3 separate regions of the Homo sapiens genome follow, and all the other regions are linked to region 3. The links are contacts of gene promoters, found by promoter capture Hi-C in blood cells and fetal thymus (Javierre and others, 2016). All regions are on one chromosome and are shown on one strand. The core of a region is centred on a gene start or on the middle of the fragment in contact, and the rest is flanking DNA. Distances in the headings are between cores, read along the strand shown.

Region 1 (4,085 bases), core at 184-2,683, 240 kb after region 3:
AGAGTGACCCAACATTTGAAAACCAATCAATGTAATCTAACATATCAACAGATTAAAGGAGAAAAATCATATGATTACATCTATTGAAGCAGAAGCAGCACTGGAAAAAATCCAATGCCCATTCATAAGAACTCTCAGCAAGTTAGAAATAGAGGAGAATGACCTCAAATTGATTAGGAGCACCCACAGAAAAACCTACAGCTAACATCATACTTCATGGTGAAAGAGTAAATGCTTTTCTCCCACCATCAAGAACACGACGAGGATGACAACCTTCCCCACTCTTTCTCAACAAAGCACTGGAAGATCTAGGTCCTGCATTAATGCAAGACCAATAAATAAAGGCATCGAGATTGGAAAGGAAGCAATAAAGCTGTCCCTATTTGCAGATGACACATTGTCTATGTAGAAATCACAAGGAATCTACACACAAACTCCTGGAACCAGTAAGTGATTTCAGCACTGTGGTAGGATACAAACACACAAAAGAAAGCATTTCTACAGGCTAACAATGAACATGCAGAAACTGAAATTAAAAACACAACACCATTATAATCGCCCCAAAGAAAGTGAAATATCTAGCTATACACTTAAGAAAACATGTACAGGATCTGGATGCTCTTAGAGAATGCTGATAAAAGAGATTTTAAAAGACCGAAATAAATGTAGAGACATTCCATGTTCATGGACTGGAAGACTTTTCAATTATCCTCAAATTAATCTATCAGTGTAATGTAATCCCTATCAAACTACCAGCAAGGTATTTTGTAGGCAAAAATAAGCTTATTCTAAAATGTATATGCAAAAGGCAAAGGAAATAGGTTAATTAAAATGATCTTGACAAACAAGAATAAAGTGGGAGGAATTACTCTACCTGATACTAAGGCTTCCTATATCGCTATAGCAACGAGGTCAGTGTGGTATTAGTGAAAAGACAGACATGGAGATCAACGAAATAGAATATAGAGGACCCAGAAAGGAACGCAATACAAAGTGTTAGTATTCAGCATATAAAAAACCTTTCACGGGCTGGGCACAGTGGCTCACACCTATAATTCCAGCACTTTGGGAGGCCAAGGCAGGTGAATCACCTGAGGTCAGGAGTTCAAGACCAAGCCTGACCAACATGGTGAAACCCCGACTCTACTAAAAATACAAAAATTAGCCGGGCATGGTGGCGCACGCCTGTAATCCCAGCTACTCGGGAGGCGGAGGCAGGAGAATAGCTTGAACCTGGGAGGTGGAGTTTGCAGTGAGCCGAGATTGTGCCACTGCACTCCAGCCTGGGCAACAAGAGCAAAATTCCATCTCAAAACAAACAAACAAAAAACCTTTCATAAATCAGTAAGACAACTACGGTCAAAAAAAAAAAACAGGCAAGTGATGTAAATAGCAAGTTTATAAAAGAAATAAACATGGCTAACAGATTGATGAGATACTCAAATTCATCAACAATGAGGATATAAATTAACAAGATACTGTTCCATACTCATCAGGTGGGCCTAAATAAATTTAAAATCTGACCATACCCACGTCTTGTGAGGATGCAAGGAAACAGGAACTCTCTTACACTGCTCAGGACCTTATTGTGGTGAGCTATTTGGCAATTTCTAAAAATGTGAAAGATGGGTCCAACCACAGACTCAGCAGCTCTAATGATATGCCCTGGAAAGCAGTTCCCAAAATGTGGTCTGTGAACCCTGTGGGTACCTGAGACCCTTTCAGAAATCTGTGAGGTCAAAATGATTTTCATAACACTAAGAAGTTGTTTGCCTTGTTGACAAGTTACCATCAGCATCAACGGTGCAAAGCAGTGCTGTGGGTAAAGCTGCTGGTGCCTTAGCACAAAACAAGACAATGGCACCAGACCACACTCATGGTTACCATATTCCTCAACACCACACCCTCATGGTTCAACAAATGGCAGTTTCACTTAAGCATGTCCTTGATAGAGTATTCAGAATTATTAATCTTATTAACTCTCTACCCTTTAGTACACATCTTTGTAATGTTCTGTGATGAAATAGAAGGAAGTGTGTGTAAATAATTCTGCTGCACGCTGAACACAAAGGGTGCTTCAAGGAGAAGCTTTATGTTTATCACCTTGTCTTTACCTCCACTACAAACGTGTCAATAATGTGCTCCCGGGGGAGGAACCAGTGGGCTACTTCCTCTTCATCCATCACTGGAGCCAGATGAAACTGCTTCAGGTAAGTGTTGATTAATTCTCGAACTGATTTGATATCTTTTGGTTCCATTGGTCTCAAACCTGAAGTCTTTGTAACCTTGTTGGAGGGGAAACAAAACAAATCCAGAAGTTCAGGTAGAAGAGGAGTGAAACGACTTTGCACTCAAAGTGTGGTCTGCAGACCAGCAGAATGAGCAGCACGCGGGAGCTAGTTAGAGCTGCAGAGCCTGGCCCTGCCCCAGATCTAATGAATCCGAATCTGCAACTCAACAAGATTTCCTTGGGTTTGTACATACATTAAGGTTTGAGAAGAGCTGGGTTAAAATATAGGCGAGACAGACAATGTGTTGTATCTTCCTATCTGTGCGGCAAGTCTTTGGTCACTACTGCCCATGACCCAAACAAACATCAAAGGGAACAGTACAAGTTCATGATGTACGCCAATACCCAAAACACACCAATGTATATACCAATGCCAAGAATGTTAACAGTCTACATGATGGGACATAGCCAACTTAGCATGACTTCTGGAGTACAGGCAGCCCTCCGTATCCACTGGTTGTGCATCTGTGGGTTCGACCAACCTTAGACGAAAAATATTCGGGGAAAAAAAACTGGATCGTTGCATCTGTGCTGATCATGTACGGACTTTTTTTCTTGTCATTATTTCTTAAAAATGCAGTGTAACAACTACTTACATAGCATTTAGATTGTATTTGACCTTATAAGTAATCCAGAGATGATTTAAAGTATACAGGACAGGGGGCATGGTGGCTCATGCCTGTAATCCCAGCACTTTGGGAGGCTGATGCCGGTGGATCATTTGAGGTCAGAAGTTCGAGACCAGCCTGGCCAACATGATGAAACCCTGTCTCTACGAAAAATGTAAAACTTAGCCAGGCGTGGTGACATGCACCTGTAATCCCAGCTACTCGGGAGGCTGAGGCAGGAGAATCGTTTGAAACTGGGAGGCGAAGGTTGCAGTGAACCATGATCACGCCACTGCACTCAAGCCTGGGAGACAGGGAGGGACTTCGTCTCAAAAATAAATAAATAAAGTATACAGGAGGATGTGCATACATTATATGCAAATACACAATGCTACGCCATCTTATATAAGGGACTTGAGCACCCAAGGATTCTGGTATCTGAGGGGTCCTAGAACCAATCCTTCATGGTTTCTGAGGGATGCTTTAAAACTGCCAAGTCTGACATTTTGAAAATACAACTGAGCAACTTGTTTTATTATGCAATAGCCCATTAAAAGCGTGTGGTGATTTTGTTCTCTTGAACAAAAATGATATAGGAGTGAATCATATCAGGCTGGATGGGAAGGCAAGCATTGTTCATAGCCAAGTATTTTCTAAAGGCAAACGGGTTTACAGCCATACCAGCCTGAAAGTGTCCATCTTGTCTAACGGCAAATGGCTGCCAGGGACGCGGCCTGGCCTCTCCTGCCACATCTTCTGGGTAAAGGTGATCAGGGTAGGTGTCTTATCACTACTCCAGAGCTTTAGAATTTAAAAAATTAAGCCATAGGAATAAAACACCTAAAAGTCAGGACAGGTCCCCATTTGAATTTGTTCAGCTGTTGTCCTTGTAAAAGCTCCTGACATCACTTTGCTCTCTAGAACTGTTCAGGGGCCAGGGGACTTGAGACTAAAAGTCAGGAAGCCCAACAAACAGACAATTTTAAACTGAGAAATACAGTTTATTTTTTTCTGTAAACCTGATTTTTCCCCCCCTTGGAGAAACACTAGATACATTTTAAGAGATGAATAATCTGTATATAAATATTGCTACTCTACTTTTTCTGCCCTAAATGATTATTTTTAAAAATTTTATATAATCTAGCAGTTCCACTCTTAAGAAATATTGTTAAAGGAAAAACTTCCTG
Region 2 (3,849 bases), core at 603-3,102, 170 kb before region 3:
TGCTAAAATGTTTGGACAGAAAACTGGGTTCTCCTCCCAGTGGGTATTAAGTGAACCTTGTGGGTTTTGCACAAACCTTTTGAGAGAAACAGCAATCATGGTTCCCATTCTACAGATGGTAGGAGCCACCTTCTATGCTCTGACAGTACATCCAGGTGGTCTACCTGTACATCACTGAAGAATGTTAAATGCCCTTAGAGATTTTAAGGCTTAGGAGAAATCCGATCACTTTATTTTCTCCTAAATTTGTAAATTATCAAAGAGGCTAATTGTAAAGGTTTAGGTAAATTGCTCTGTGTGTGTGTGTGTGTGTGTGTGTGTGTGTTAGTATGTATCAAATAAATACAATAAATGAGTCATCCAAACACACAGGATCAGGTTTTAACTAATAGCCAACAAAATGCTAAGTGTCACAGAAGAATCCAATAACAAACAGTTTCCAACTGTTTACCCCAAAAATATTGTGTGGTTGTAGCCTATCTTCAAAAAGGTGGGTCTACCCAGAGACAGGTCTCTGACAAAATCTACAAATTATACAGAGGGGACGCCCAGCCAAGACTGGGCAGCCTTCAAAGTTCAAGATGGTTAAAAATTAAACTGCATATTTAACTGAATCTAAGGTGAAATCAAAATAGTATAACACATACAATGAGCAAAAATATTTGTAAATAATGGATCTGATATGGGATTAATATACAGAATATATAAAGAATGCCTACAACTCGATAAGAACAAAACAAACAATCTAATTCAAAATAGGCAAAAGGGCCAGGTGTGGTGGCTCATGCCTGTAATCCCAGCATTTTGGGAGGCCAAGGCGGGTAGATTATTTGAGATCAGAAGTTTGAGACCAGCCTGGCCAACATGATGAAACCCCATCTCTACTAAAAATACAAAAATTAACTAAGCATGGTGGTGGGCAACTGTAATCCCAGTTACTTGGGAAGCTAAGGCAGGAGAATCACTTGAACCCGGGAGGCAGAGCTTGCCGCGAGCCAAGATGGCGCCACTGTACTCCAGACTGAGCAATGGAGTGAGACCCTGTCACAAAAAAAAAAAAAAAAAAAATAGACAAAGGACTTGAATAAACATTTCTCCAAAGAAGATACACAAATGCCAATAAGCTCATGGATTGCTGCACCACATCACTAATCATTAGGGAAATGTAAATCAAAACCACAATGAGATACGACTTTCACACCCATTAGAATGACCACTATTTAAAAAAAAGAAAATAATAAGCAGTGATGAGAATGTAGAGAAACTGGAACCCTTGTACACTGCTGGGGGAACTGTAATGGTGCAGGTGCTATAGAAAACAGTACTCATTCCTAAAAAATAATTACACATACAACTACCCTATGAGCCAGCAATTAGACTTCTGCATATTGACCCAAAAGAATTAAAAGCAGAGTCTAGAATGGATATTTGCACACCCATGCTCCTAGCAGCATTGTCTACAATAGCCAAAGGTGTGAACAACCCAAATTTTCCCTGATAGAAAAATGGATAAACAAAGTGTGGTCTAGCCATACAATGGAATGTGATTCAGCTTGAAAAAGGAAGGGAATTCTGACACACACCACAACATAACTGGATCTTGAAGACATTATAATCAAAGAAATAAGCTAGCCACAGAAAGACAAATACTATATATGGTTCCACTCCTACAAGGTCCCTAGAGTAGTCAAATGCATAGAGAGAACAAGCAGAATGATGGTTGCCAAGGGCTAGGTGGAGAAGAAAAGGGGAAGTTGTTTAGTGGGTACAGAGATTCAGTTTTTTGCAAGACGAAAGAGTTCTGGAGATGGAGGGTGGTGATGACTGCACAACAATGTAAACGTATTTGATGCCACTTGTGATCTGAGAGGCCAAAACAGATGCCCTTTTGTCAACTAAGAGAAACTCTAACGTTAAGGCAACAGAAGTTACCTACAGATCAAGGTTTCAGGACCCAACCGGCAGGGCAAATTTCTAAATTCCTATGGCTTACAAGAAAAACCGCACTCTTGCTAAACTCCTATACAATAGGAGCTATCAGGCAAATTAACATACCCTTCCTAATTCTGATTTACAACCCAGACCACTACAACTCTGTTGAACAGAGGATTGGCCTGATAAACATTCTTTCCTGATAAGCAACTGCAGACCTTAAGCCAGTTTCAGCAGCTCATGGAGGCTGTGCACAAACTGTCTTTGTGTCCTATGCTTAACCTTTTGATATATACCACCTTGTTCTATTTTATTTTAAGAGACAGGGTCTCACTCTGTCACCCAGGTGGGAGTACCGTGGTGCAATCATAACTCATTGCAGCCTCAAACTCCAAATTGTTTTTTTTTTAAGACAGCTAAAGTATCCCTCTTGCCTCAGCCCCCCAAGTAGCTGGCACTACCAGAACACACCACCATGCCTGGCTAATTTTAAATTTTTTTGTAGAGATAAGGTCCCACTATGTTGCCCAGGCTGGTCTTGAACTCCTGGCCTCAAGGGATCCTCCCACCTTAGCCTCCCAAAGTGTTGGGATATCTGCCTCATTTTAATGCTAAAACTTCACCCCAAAGTGAACTGGGATGTATGTTACATGTATGTTTACCTATTGCATATGCACTTGACCTCATCCTTATAAATATATATAGCTTTTCCCCAAATCTGCTGAATATGTATGACTATTGTGTAATATAGACATTGTAAGGCATAAAATCCAACCTGCCCTTCCCCTCTTCAAAGAGTGAGCAGCTTTAGTCCATGCTGGAGACTATCTTTTCCTGGTTTGCCAATTGATATTGCCAATAAAACTGTCCCTTCTACTCTTCAGCCATCGTGGTGGTCTTTTGGATGATGCACCCAACTATACACTTAAAAAATGGTGGCCAGATGCCGTGTCTCACGCCTGGAATCCCAGCACTTTGGGAGGCTGAGGCAGGCAGATCACGAGGTCAGGAGATCGAGACCACCCTGGCTAACACGGTGAAACCCCGTATCTACTAAAAATAGAAAAATTAGCAGAGTGTGGTGGCACGCGCCTGTAGTCCCAGCTACTCAGGAGTTTGAGGAAGGAGAATTGCTTGAACCCGGGAAGGCGGAGGTTGCAGTGAGCCGAGATCGTGCCACTGTACTCCAGCCTGGGCGACAGAGCAAGACTCTGTCTCAGAAAAAAACAAAACAACAACAACAAAAAAACAAAACAACAAAACAAAACAAAAAAATGGTTACAGTGGTAAATTTCACGTTATGTGTATTTTATCACCACCCCAACAAAAGAAAATTGTGGAAAGATGATTTTAAGTGGTCTAGCTCTGATTCAATCAGTGCCACCTCCTAAGTGAGTTCAGGGGCTGTCATAACCTTCTTTCAACTACCCACCAATTGCGTTCCCACAATGACATTCTCAAAGACACACAAAGAGGGACTGCATCATCACTCCAGCAGCTCAGAGAAGTTTGCGTTCCCAGGTATCTCCCTGAGATCTCTAATAGGAGCTGAGGCACAAGGACAAAAAGAATCAGGATCACCCAGCAGGATGCCCCGAGACTGACGAGAGGTGAATCCATGACTGCAGAAGAAAAGGCCCTTCTCCCACTTTGTGATCACTGTGGGCATTTATTGTAACTCACAGGGCATGCTGGTCTCATGGGACAGATTCCCCACTCTCTGCTGAAAGCTGTGACGTCTGGGATAGATTAAGGAGCCACATGGCTGCCTTCAGTGGGAGGGCCCAAGTATGTATTCTTGTTTTCTTTTGCATTCTTCATTCTGTTAAAATCGCTTTGCTTTTCCCATCCATAAACATGGCTCCCAACTCCCACTTCATCATACTAGTGAAATGTGCACATGTCTTGGAATCTTTT
Region 3 (3,706 bases), core at 1,207-3,706:
TTTAAGGATGCAAAGTAGGGCTAAAGAATGAGGTAACATGCGAGGCCTCTGTCAATAGGTGGTGTTTAAGCTGAGACCCAAGTGATCTGAAGGTAGCCATGTGAGGAGGGGAAGGAGCCTGTCCTCTTAACCGGAAAGTAATTTCCAGCTGCCTTCAGTGATTTGCTTTATCCGCTGCTCCTGTCACTAGGAAGTCAGCTCCATGAGGACTGGGTCTTTTTTCTTTCTCATCCACTGCTATATTCCCAGCACCTATCAGGTGCCTGGCACATAGGAGATGCACAGTAAAAGATTTCTGGGTAAGTGGGGCCGGGGAAAGGCCAGGAAAATGAGTAAAGGGGAGAGTGGCACCAAGTGAGGTGAGACAGGATTCCCATCACTGGAGGCCCTGCCGGCCATCTGGAGGTTTGAGTTTTATTCTGAATGCTACGAAGTTCAGAAGTGTATTTTTCCGGATATGTTCAATTTGAGATGTTTGTGCAACACCTAAGGGCATATGTCCATTACGCACTGTGGATATTCTAGCCTGGAATTCAGGCAGAGGCCAGGGCCGGAGACGATAAGTGAGGCATCTTGTGTGTCAAGATGCTATTTAAATCCATGGGAATTGGGGCAGTCACATAGGGAGAGGGCGGAAAAGAAATGCAGTCCCAGGACTACAGTCTCTTCTCTGAGGAACCCAGGTTGGACTGAGGAAAAGGAGCCAAAAAGGATTCAAGAGTGGCCAGTGAGTAGCGATGGCCGCTCCTTGGTGGGCTCTGAAAACATACAGGAGAGGTAATGAATACAGGGGCCGGTTAGGACGGGAGGCTGTATCCAAGTCTGAAGGCATAATCCTAGATAGACTAAGCCTTAAAGGGCCTGGATGCTCTTCCAGGTGACAGGGTTGGACAGGGCCTTTTATTCCTTATCTCAAGGTAATGAGATATGGAATACAAAATTTACTAAGGACTCAAATCTTAGAAACATGTCTGAGAAATGCAGTTGCATTGAAACACACACGGACTGCAGAACAGTATTTGTATTATGATGCCGTTTGTAGCTAAATAAAGTCTGGGAGCATGAGTGTGTGTGAGGAAGTGGTGTTTCCCATCGTAGAAAATGATTAAATATTTAAAAACGAGAAGTTAAAAAGAAAATCACTCCGAAAAGGCTATTTCGTTATTTTCCTATACATTTTTTTCTTCCATAGTTAAAACTATATTTCAGGGGGATTTGTTTTGGTTTTGCTGAATACTAAAAGCTTCATGAACACCTTTTTAAGACGGCTAGACAGTATTTCATAATGGAATCAAATAATTAACTATTCCTTTAATGGTCTGCGTTCATTTCCAGTATTTCAAATTTATACATACTGCTTTGAAACGTTTATGTAATTTTTTACATGAATTTTTTAAGGAGATATCAAATGGCCTTCTGCCAGTTTTCGTTATTTGCTCTAAGATTTCTGCTTTAGGTTGTTTAGAACAATCATGGATGCAGCGTCAAGAATGGGTGGGGGAGGGGGGTGGAGACCAGGTGGGAGGCCCCTGGAGTCGTCCTGCAGCTTCCTTACTAACGTGTCCTTCTCCTCCCGGCCCCCACCCGCCACCAGGCCGAGCTCAGGAGCTTGGCAACAACATGGGAGGGGAGCTCGGGTCCCCTTACAGACCTACCCAATCCCAATTTACATTAAAGTTGAGCCCAGGAGGTCTAGTCTGCAGTGAGCCGTAATCGCGCCACTGCACTCCAGCCTGGGTGACAGAGTGAGACCTCATCTCTTAAAAAATTCCAAGTCCAGCTCCCCCACCCCCGACGATTCGTAAGCCCCTTTAAGTGAGAAGCACTGATGTGGACCGGTGGTTTCCGCTGTGCCGCACATTAGGATCAGCTGGGAGCTGGATAGCACAGGCCACACCCCACACCAACCAGTCGGAATCCCGGCGACTGCCCCAAGCCAGCGGAACCTCTCCAGCCATGCCCACGTGCAGCCGCTTCCGAAGCCCGGAGCTCTAGAGGGAGCGGTGTCGGGGGGAGACTAACCATGGCCCACGGGGCTGCGGTAGCTGCGGAACCGTACCCGACAGGCAGCGTCCCCGGCTCCCTAGGTCCCCGCTGCCCGTGTCGGATCTCGCAGTGTGCGAGTGCTGCCGAAGTAAGACGTCTCCAAAGCGCAAAGTCCTGGCCGACGTCTTCCCGAGTGAAGGCGCCAAACGGGCCTGGCGAAGGGAAGGGGGCGCCGGACACTGCCGAGGATCCGGGAGCACGCGCGCTCGCCCCGCCCCGCTCCTCGCGCTTGGGGCCGGGCCTAGCTTTGGGGCGCAGGCGCGCTGGCCGCCGCGGCGGGGGGTCGGCCGCCAGTGACGTCAGGACGCCGTGCGGGTTCCGTCCCCCAACAAGCCCCGGCCCCCAAGTCCCGCGCGGGCCGGCCAGGGGCGGGGCGTCGGGCCAGCTGAGCTATCCCGTCAGACCGCGCCAGTTTGAATGAAAGCTCTACAAGATGGCGGCGGTCGGGGCCGAGGCGCGAGGAGGTGAGGCTGGAGCGCGGCCCCCTCGCCTTCCCTGTTCCCAGGCAAGCTCCCAAGGCCCGGGCGGCGGGGCCGTCCCGCGGGCCAGCCAGATGGCGACGTGGCGGTTCCCCGCCCGCCGCGACCCCAACTCCGGGACGCACGCTGCGGACGCCTATCCTCCCCCAGGCCGCTGACCCGCCTCCCTGCCCGGCCGGCTCCCGCCGCGGAGGTGGGCACTGTCCGAGCCTGGGGCACTTCGGAAGTGGAGCGTGGCCTCTCCGCCCGCTCGGCCCGGCCCCCTCCGCGTCTCCCGTGGCGGCCTCGGGCTTCGAGGCCGCTCCCCGGCAGTCCCCGGTTGGAGGTCCGGGGGGCACGGCTGCGACTGGCTCCTTTGTGGTGGTTCGAGCGCGGCGTGCGGCATGCGCCCGGGCCTTTGAAGTGGGAGGCGGGAAGCGACGCCCGCCGGCGTGAACATGACCTTAATATCAGAGGGGGAGAGTAAATCGGGGCGCCTGTGTGCTAAGAAAGGGGATAAGCGAGGAATCCCCCCCAAGGCGGACACGCTAGGAGGTTGAGTGCCTCGTTGGAGAATCGCCCAGAAAGTGGGTATTTGAGGTTGCAGCCTCTGGCTTACGGTAACTCTTTCACCCACCGGGAGCTTGGTGTTATTTCTGTGGACGCTGGGGAATTGGGCACCGGGGAACTGGGCACCGAGCGCGCGTGGGTGTGGGCGTCGGGGGGTGTTGGTGTCGCGCACGCTTTGAGAGCCTGGAACTTTTCCGTGCGTTCCGGAATGTAAAGGTGTTTTCAAGCTCGTCTCCTCTCCGCTGGGATTATGACCTCATTATCCCTGAATTTTTCTCCTTGGAGAATGTCAGGGGTTACTGTGAACCAGCGGAAGGTGTTTGTGGTGGTCATGAACTATTTAATTTTGTCAGTGAAATCTTTTTCTGCATTACTGGAGACTGTCGAGAGATTGTCTTTCTTTTTTTAACCACGTGTTTGCAGTTTTTCATGTTCACTTTTTTTTTTTTTTTAATTTTCAAAGAGCATTTCCTTTGCGGGTTGTGTTTTGAATCCTCAACTAGATAAAAATGTTTAGGAAAAGCACACAAACACACCTTGAGTAGATAAGAGGAACCTCCTTTATACGTGATTCCCTTAATGAGGTCAGCTTAACACAAAACGTTCTCTAGTTTTTGTAGATGGAAGGGACT

What was found. The method cuts DNA at HindIII sites, captures the fragments that hold promoters and counts their contacts. A CHiCAGO score of 5 or more calls a contact.
Region 1: a contact is called between a fragment that was not itself captured here and the fragment with the promoter of SUV39H2 in region 3, in 2 of 17 cell types (monocytes and neutrophils). The highest score is 6.8, in monocytes.
Region 2: a contact is called between a fragment that was not itself captured here and the fragment with the promoter of SUV39H2 in region 3, in 1 of 17 cell types (neutrophils). The highest score is 5.2, in neutrophils.

What each region holds. Positions count from the first base shown.
Region 1 is chr10:15,117,229-15,121,313 of GRCh38, forward strand. NMT2 (N-myristoyltransferase 2) reads right to left here. Exons shown (of 12, transcript NM_004808.3): 9 at 2,115-2,285. LOC105376431 (a long non-coding RNA gene) reads left to right here. Exons shown (of 2, transcript XR_930693.4): 2 at 1,995-2,341. Among named protein-coding and RNA genes, the nearest start is that of RPP38, 22 kb to the left of the region's middle. The HindIII fragment of the contact is 1,306 bases long and covers 781-2,086 here.
Region 2 is chr10:14,703,976-14,707,824 of GRCh38, forward strand. The region is part of intron 1 of FAM107B (family with sequence similarity 107 member B); the gene reads right to left. Among named protein-coding and RNA genes, the nearest start is that of FAM107B, 69 kb to the right of the region's middle. The HindIII fragment of the contact is 4,120 bases long and covers 1-3,849 here.
Region 3 is chr10:14,876,410-14,880,115 of GRCh38, forward strand. It overlaps SUV39H2 (SUV39H2 histone lysine methyltransferase), which reads left to right and starts at 2,457. Exons shown (of 6, transcript NM_001193424.2): 1 at 2,457-2,510. The coding sequence starts at 2,480. SUV39H2-DT (SUV39H2 divergent transcript) reads right to left here and starts at 2,250. Exons shown (of 1, transcript NR_186426.1): 1 at 1-2,250. RefSeq lists a silencer at 2,191-2,930. The HindIII fragment of the contact is 2,774 bases long and covers 1,242-3,706 here.